2 separate regions of the Homo sapiens genome follow, and region 1 is linked to region 2. The links are contacts of gene promoters, found by promoter capture Hi-C in blood cells and fetal thymus (Javierre and others, 2016). All regions are on one chromosome and are shown on one strand. The core of a region is centred on a gene start or on the middle of the fragment in contact, and the rest is flanking DNA. Distances in the headings are between cores, read along the strand shown.

The links. Contacts are between HindIII fragments. The CHiCAGO score rates a contact against its expected background, and 5 or more counts as called.
Region 1: a contact is called between a fragment that was not itself captured here and the fragment with the promoter of LTV1 in region 2, in 1 of 17 cell types (erythroblasts). The highest score is 5.4, in erythroblasts.

The regions. Positions count from the first base shown.
Region 1 is chr6:143,652,966-143,656,793 of GRCh38, reverse strand. It overlaps a transcript of PHACTR2 not described here. Among named protein-coding and RNA genes, the nearest start is that of PHACTR2, 23 kb to the left of the region's middle. The HindIII fragment of the contact is 2,851 bases long and covers 524-3,374 here.
Region 2 is chr6:143,841,947-143,845,931 of GRCh38, reverse strand. It overlaps LTV1 (LTV1 ribosome biogenesis factor), which reads right to left and starts at 2,594. Exons shown (of 11, transcript NM_032860.5): 1 at 2,452-2,594; 2 at 1,315-1,446. The coding sequence starts at 2,454. RefSeq lists enhancers at 2,091-2,160, 2,351-2,560, 2,741-2,790. The HindIII fragment of the contact is 13,446 bases long and covers 1-3,985 here.

The DNA of each region.
Region 1 (3,828 bases), core at 700-3,199, 190 kb after region 2:
CGGATTGCAAAACTAACAGACATGCTTTTTCTGTTTGAGTTATTAATTAAAATGCTTTGCTAATCAGTGATAACTCCAGAGGCTGGTGAAAAATCTTGATATTGCTTCTTCTATGATCACATCTATTCATTAATCAACACACCGGGTGTAATATTTACTCAACTACAATATTCATTCATCTACCTGTATCCTCATCTAGCATTGATGTCTCAGAGAATACTAGATCAGATTATAAAATCATAGACCAAACTTGCCCAACCTGCAGCCTGTGGGACACACACAGCCCAGGATGGCTTTGAATGCAGCCCAAAACAAATACGTAAACTTTCTTAAAACACTATGAGATGTTCTTGCAATTAAAAAAAAATCTCATCCACTATCATTAGTGTTAGTGTATTTTATGTGTGGCCCAAGACAATTCTACTTCCAATGTGGCCCAGGGAAGCCAAAAGATTGGACGCCCCTGTAACTGTTACAGCCAGGAAAGACTTGAGAGATCTCTCAGTTTGCAGACAAGAAAGCTTAGGCTCACAGGAGGTAACTGAGTTGCCAAGGTCAGAGGAAGTCCCTGGTCTGGACAGGAATGGACTGACCCCATATCCCAGGGCATGTCCCACCAGACAACCCTGCTAGAAGTCTCTGCGCCTGTTATTTCCTCTGCAGTTTGGCTTGGAGAAGAAAGTCAATGAGTGTATTTTATCCCACGATTTACCCTTCCCTCCACTGATGCTTCTTTTAAATATTTCCCCCGGTAATCACCTTAGGATAAGAAACTTAGTTCATGGAATAAAGAACTCTTTTTTGATCTTGATAGAGATCTAATTTTTGCCATCAACTAGGAGAAAATAGTGTATCTGCTGCCCGTCTGTTTTCTTCTTTTTCTCACATGGCAATTCGTAGGAAGCAACTTTAGTGAAAACTATATTTGATTCTCAGTAGACAGGTTTGACTCAGAAACTGAGGACATTTTACTAAAAATTCCGAAGAACTTTCATGTGTATGGAGAGATAATAGCAAGTATGTGGTAATAGGTGCAAAGTAAATAACTAAGTCTGAAACGTGAATAGAAAGTAAATCATAAATGCAAACACTACATTGCAGTAATCTTTTTCTCTTTAGCCTTTTCTTACAAAATCTGTGGCTTCCGTACAGAGTTGTAAATCTTTGCTTTGGATGTTTTCTAAGAAACATCTGAGAAAGCAAGTGAAGTCAAAGAAAGTATTAAAAATGCAGAAAAAATCTATAATTAATGACATATTCCATATTCTCTAATCATCTATATTTTGTGATTTTTAAATATCTTCTTTATTGAAATATAATCCACATAGCATACAATTCACCAATTTAAAGTATACAGTGGAATGGTTTTTAGTATATTCATAGAGTTGTGTGACCATCACTACCATCAATTTTATGGTATTGTCATCAACCCAGTAAGAAACCCTATGCCCATTAGCATCACTTCCTGTTCCCCACAATTCCCCCAACCCTAGACAACCACTAATGTACTTTCTTTCTCTAGGAATTTGCCTATTCTGGACATTTCATATAAATAGAATCATACAACGTTCATCCTGGTTTCTTTCACTTAGCATGATGTTTTCTTTTTTTTCTTTTTCTTTTTTTTTTTTTTTTTGAGACGGAGTTTCACTCTTGTTGCTCAGGCTGGAGTGCAGTGGCACGATCTCGGCTCACCGCAACCTCCGCCTCCCAGGTTCAAGCAATTCTCCTACCTCATCCTCCCAAGTAGCTGGGATTACAGGCATGTGCCATCACACCCGGCTAATTTTTTATTTTTAGTAGAGATGGGGTTTCTCCATGTTGGCCAGGCTGGTCTTGAACTCCTGACCTCAGGTGATCCACCCACCTCGGCCTCCCAAAGTGCTGGGATTACAGGCGTGAGCCACAGTGCCCGGCTAGCATGATGTTTTTAAGAGTCGTCCATGTTGTGGCATGTATCAATACTTCATTTAGTTTTTGTTTATTTGTAGAGACAAGGTCTTGCTCTGCAACCTAGGCGGGAGTGTGGTGGCATGATCATTGCTCACTGCAGCCTTGAACTCCTGGGCTTAAGCAGTCCTCCAACCTCAGCCTCCCAAGTCACTAGGACTACAGGCGTGCACCACCATGCTTGGCTAATTTTTTACTTTTTGTAGAGATGGAGTCTTGCTATGTTGCTCAGGCTGGTCTTGAACTCCAGGCCTCGAGTGATCCTCCCACCTCAGTCTCCCAAAGTGCCAAGATTACAGGTGTGAGCCACAGTATCCAGCCTTTATTTTTTTTAATTGGCAAATAATATTCTATTGAGTGGATATAGTATATTTTATTTACGAATTCATCAGTTTGATGAACATTTGGGTTGTTTCCACTTTTAGGCTGTTAAGAATAATGCTGCTCTGCACTTCATAAACAAGTTTCTGGTGAATATATGTTTTCATTTTTTTGGGTATATACCTAGAAGTAGAATTGCTGTTCATATGGTAACTCTATGATTGATTGTTTGAGGAACTGCCAGAGTGTTTTCTAAAGTGACTATATCATTTTAAATTTCCACCATCAATTTCTCCAAATCCTTGCAAACACTTGTTATTACCTGTCTTTCTGATTATAGACATTCCCATGGGTATAAAGTGGTCTCTTGTGGTTTTGATTTGTATTTCCCTGATGGTTAATGATGCTGAGCATCTTTTCATGTGTTTATTAGATATCTGAATATCTTCTTTGGAGAAATGTCTTTTCAAATCCTTTGCCCATTTGAACATTGGAGTATTTGTCTTTTTATTATTGCATTGTAATTGTTCTCTATATAGATACTTCCCTTTTCAGATACAACATTACAAAACTTTCCTCCCATTCTCTGGGTAGTCTTTTCACTTTATAGATGGTGTCCTTTGAGCCACAACATTTTTAGTTTGATGATGTCCAAATTATTATTGTTTCTTTTGTTTTTCGTGCTTTTAGTGTCATATTTTAAAGAAATAATTGCCTAATTCAAGGTCATGAAAATTTACACCTATGTTTTCTTCTAAGCCTGTTATAGTTTTAGCTCTTACATCTAGGTCTTTGATCAATCTTGAGTTAATTTTTTAATATGATGTAAGGTAGAGTTCTCACTTTATTCTTCTTCACATAGATATCTAGTTGCCCTAGCACTGTTTGCTGATAAGACATTTCTTTCCCCATTGAATTGTCTTGGCATCCTTGTTGACAACCAATTTTCTAAAAATGTGAGAGTTTATTTCTGGACTCAATTCTATTCCATTTATTCCATATATAAACTACTCTCCGAAAATAAACTTTGCATGTGGGAAGCTGCAATGAATTCTTTCAGGCCATTAGTAAACTGTGTCTTCAAAGCACCATATCAAAAAGCTTGGAGATTTTTTTCCTTTGCCCATCTCCACAGTCTGTATAAGGTAAGGGGTTTAGCAATAGCAACAGGGAAGTATTAAAGGCAATAAGCTGGAGATTGCAGGCAGGAGTCAGAGCAGCCTTCATTTTACAAGAGTGGAAAAACCAAGTCATGAACTTTGTGACAGCTTGACTAAAATCCAGAGGGAAACTCCAAAGCAGCTCGAGTCTCGATGCACAAATTGCTTCCTGACGTGTCTTGCGACTGGCCTTGTTTCCAGAGGGCCAAAGTTCAATGATTAGGATTACTTCTGAGACACCTGGGGACAGAGGCATCCAGAACAAATGCTCTGGCAGTGAGGCAACCATCACACCGTGTGCCATCAAGTACAATTCTCTTGCCAGTTGCAGCTTGCAAGGGTGAAAGAGAGCGCTGCTGGGAACACCTGGTGCTTTTCTATTGCTTGCCAGGGAGCT
Region 2 (3,985 bases), core at 1,345-3,844:
AGATGGCACATGAACATTTTGGCTGATGGGAAAAAGACAAAGAATTCTTGACAAACAGGAAATGTACAGCTTCAAAACCAGAGTGCTACGTAACATTAAAATGGAATGAAAACATTCATGCTTTTAAAAGGGCAATAAAAATAAATAACAATTGCTCCTTCCACTAGACATTTCTGTGCAACATTTTGAGTCAAGAAACAAACATACAATTTATTTTATCATCTATTTGGAGGGTTATAAGAAAAGACCTGGGGGGCCAGGTGCAGTGGCTCATGCCTATAATCCCAGCACTTTGGGATGCTGAGGTAGGAGGATCACTTGAGCCTTGGAGTTCAAGACCAGCCTGGGCAAAATAGTGAGACCTCGTTTCTACAAAATAATTTTAAAAATCAGCCAGGCCAGGTGGCGTGTGCCTGTAGTACCGGCTACTCTGGAGGCTAAGGTGGGAGGATCGCTTGAGCCCAAGAGGTAGAAGTTGCAGTGAGCTGAGATGGAGCCACTTTGCATGCCAGCCTGGGAAACAGAGATTTGGGCGCCTTGAAAGGTAAGTACAATTTCTTGTATTTATATGCAAAAAAACCCTTCTCAACATACAACAAAACTGGCTTTACTGAAAAGCTAAACGTGGCCCATGTCCCCCAGTACTCTGTTTCCCAACACTCTGTTTCATAATATCTACACTTAATAAGTGTTGTGTAACATTAAGAGTCTTAATAAGTAGAGTCTAACATTAAGTCAATCTTTACCAGGCTCCCTTGCAAAGTTCCCTGAGCTAACCAAGGAGCTCAGATATTTTACATTTCCTAAGATGAGCAAGCAGGAGGCAAAATGCAGTTTGCGGTTATGAAACGGCAGGATCTTAGAGAAAGCACAGTTTGAGCATATATCGGTGCCCTAAATAACATCATGCCGCATTGTAGCTGGTGCTTTGGTAAATATTTACCATTATTCTACAAGATTTGCTCGTTTAAACATCTCAAATAAAGATCTTTGTCTTCCCAATCAAAATAATGTGAATGATGTAAAAATCACCAATTGTACTGAAAATTAACTTATAGATTATTTCCCAGAATATCAGTTATCTGAGAATAACAGCTGGCTAACAATTTATTAAAAACTATTAACATAGCAAGGCGTGGTGGCTCATGCCTGTAATCCCAGCACTTTTGGAGGCCAAGCTGGGAGGACTGCTTAAGTCCAGGAGTTCGAGACCAGCCTGGGCAACGTGCTAAGACTCTATTTATTTAAAAAAAAAAAAAGAAAAAAAAAACTATTGTCTACCTACAAACTGACTGGCTAAAGAACAGGACCTACTTTTTGTGTGGGCAATAGAACCCTCTGGGGTGCACTCTCATCTGCTGCTAAAGGATCTCGTTGGCTCCGGTGGACCAAGTGAAAAGACACAGCTTTCTTCTTCTCTATAAAGGGCTTTTTCTTCCTGTGAGGCTTCAAAGGAACAAAATCACAACAATTAATTAAAACAGAACAAAAAGACGGAGAATAATTCCATAGTCCACACATGCATCTTTAGTAGTCATGTTAAAGATACTTTTTAAAAATCTACACTTCTAGGGCAGGCAACATCAGCTGTGTTCTGCAGAATCCATACTTAACCTTCCTTCAACAAACATTCCTTGAGCACCTACTTTGTGCCAGACCTTGTTATGGGAACTGAGAATACAGAAGTGGGAAAGTCAGATAAAGTCCCTGTTCTTAGCAAGAAAATCAAGATAATTTCCGGTGAAGAAAATATAAGACAGTGACGTGAAAATGCCTTAAAAGCTACTTTACACTGGCTGCTCAGGGAAGGCCCCTGGCCGACTGAACTAGAATGACAAGAAGCCTGCCACAACATAATCTGGAGTAGACAGCTCCACACAGAGCATCTACCAACCAGTAAATAAAATCACGACACAAACAGCTAAAGTTTAATAAGATCCATCACCTCTTTCTACATTCTTACTTCGCTATTCAATTTTGATTCTCTAAACTGGGAAACCAATTAAGTGGCTTTACTTTGGGCCCAACCTTATGCTCTCCCACAAGTTCCCTTTCTCAGAGGAAACAGACAGGCAGACACCTGCCACTCCAACGCTGAGGGAGACCAGCAGCTCCCTCTGCTCGACCCCAAGAAGCACAGGGTTGCGCGTTTGTGTCGGCAGTCACCAGCTTTTAGTTAACCGAAATCACGCAGGGCTGCAGGCTCCCAGGGATAAAACAAAAAGGCCATTCTCCTCTCCGGGCCACATCCCAGGGAGGCTCGGCGGTGGGAGACTGTAACTTGCAAAGAATGCCCACGGTGGTGACGTTGGCCCATTTCGGGGTACCGTGCCGCAAGCAGCCTCTGGCATGACCCAGACCCGGGCCGCAGTAGCCAAGGTATTACCGGAAGCAGCCTGGCCTCTGCAAAACCACAGCGCTCGGCCGCCGAAACAAGCAAGGCTTGCTCACCATGCTGCAGCCGCGCGGCGCTCACCCCCAACAGGGGCGGCGATGACACCCTCGAAGTCCGGCGGGGAGACCAAGGTCCAGCTGAAGGCCGCTTCTGTAGGCCTCACCACACGTGCAGCCCCAGGACCCGGCGATAACGTCACCCAGCCGGCCGTGGAAACGGACCAATCGCCGAGGAGCTGATGGGTCGCGACCGGAAGTTACATAGGCTCGCTGCGTCTCCACGATCGCGAGAAGCCACCGGGAGGTGGGGCTAGCTCGGCTCCCACCCCTGGGCGGGCTGTACTTTTCCGGCCTTTAGTCTCCCGCCGGGCAAAGGGAATCGTGGGGGTCCTTAACGTTGAGGCGCCACAGAGGGGTTTCTGCTTGTGGACGAACCTTTTATAGCTCCCTCTACGGAGACCAGAGGGGACGAATCTAGCATCCCCCTTGACTTGTGTCCCTTACCTATTCCCAACCATAAAAAACAAAGCCGCGGACACGGAAGGGAGGCGACCACCCCGCTGGGGTGCTGGGGTCGCCAAGTTTCAGGTTCCCTCTCCGGGTGGGGGCGGAGTCGGTTGCCGTAGCAACGGAGGCTGGGGCCTTGCCTTTATAGACTGCATCAGACTTGATCAGGTTATATTTTCCACTGTTTCATGAACTGCTTTCATCTGCCCTGTTAACCAAACCCCCGAGACTCTGTTAACTGTAGAGGCATTTGAACTAATAAAATATATTCAGAATCTCTGGTGTTTGAATGTTAACTTTCTCCCCCTGTTTAAACAAATAGGCTATAAGCACGCATTCTTAGGAAGATTTCAGGCCGGCGTTGGCGTACTCACATAGCTTTTCTTGGACGAAAGTGTGTGGTAAATGCAGTCACTTTCATCAGCAGACCTTTTTTTCAAATTTGTTTCCCCAACTTCCCAGTTTCTGGTGACCTCTCAATGAATGGCTTACCCTGGATTGTGTCTTTATGCCGTAGGCATTATCACTGTAAGTATTTGTGGAGTATTATTCTTTTATTACAGTAAAAATTATAGAAATAGGCCAGGCGCGGTGGCTCATGTCTGTCATCCCAGCACTTTGGGAGGCCGAAGCGGGTGGATCACCTGAGGTCAGGAGTTCAAGACCAGACTAGCCAACGTGGTGAAACCCCGTCTCTACTAAAAATACAAAACTTAGCCAGGTGTGATGGCAGGTGCCTGTAATCCCAACTACTTGGGAGGTTGAGGCAGGAGAATAGCTTGAACCCGGGAGGCAGAGGTTGCAGTGAGCTGAGATCATGCCATTGCACTCCAGCCTGGGCGACAAGAGCGAAACTCTGTCTCAAAAATATATATATATAGAAATAATTTAGGTTAGGACCATAAAACTTGTCTTAGGATATTGCTTTGTAACAGAGATAATACATAGCACTCCTATGTGCCAGAGATTCGTTGTTATTATTCATTATATAGAATTAAAAGATCCAAGGGGGCAGTTTTCATTTCCTTTCAATCAGTTGTACTTACTGCTGTATCATCAGGGGCCTGATGCATGGGGCATATAT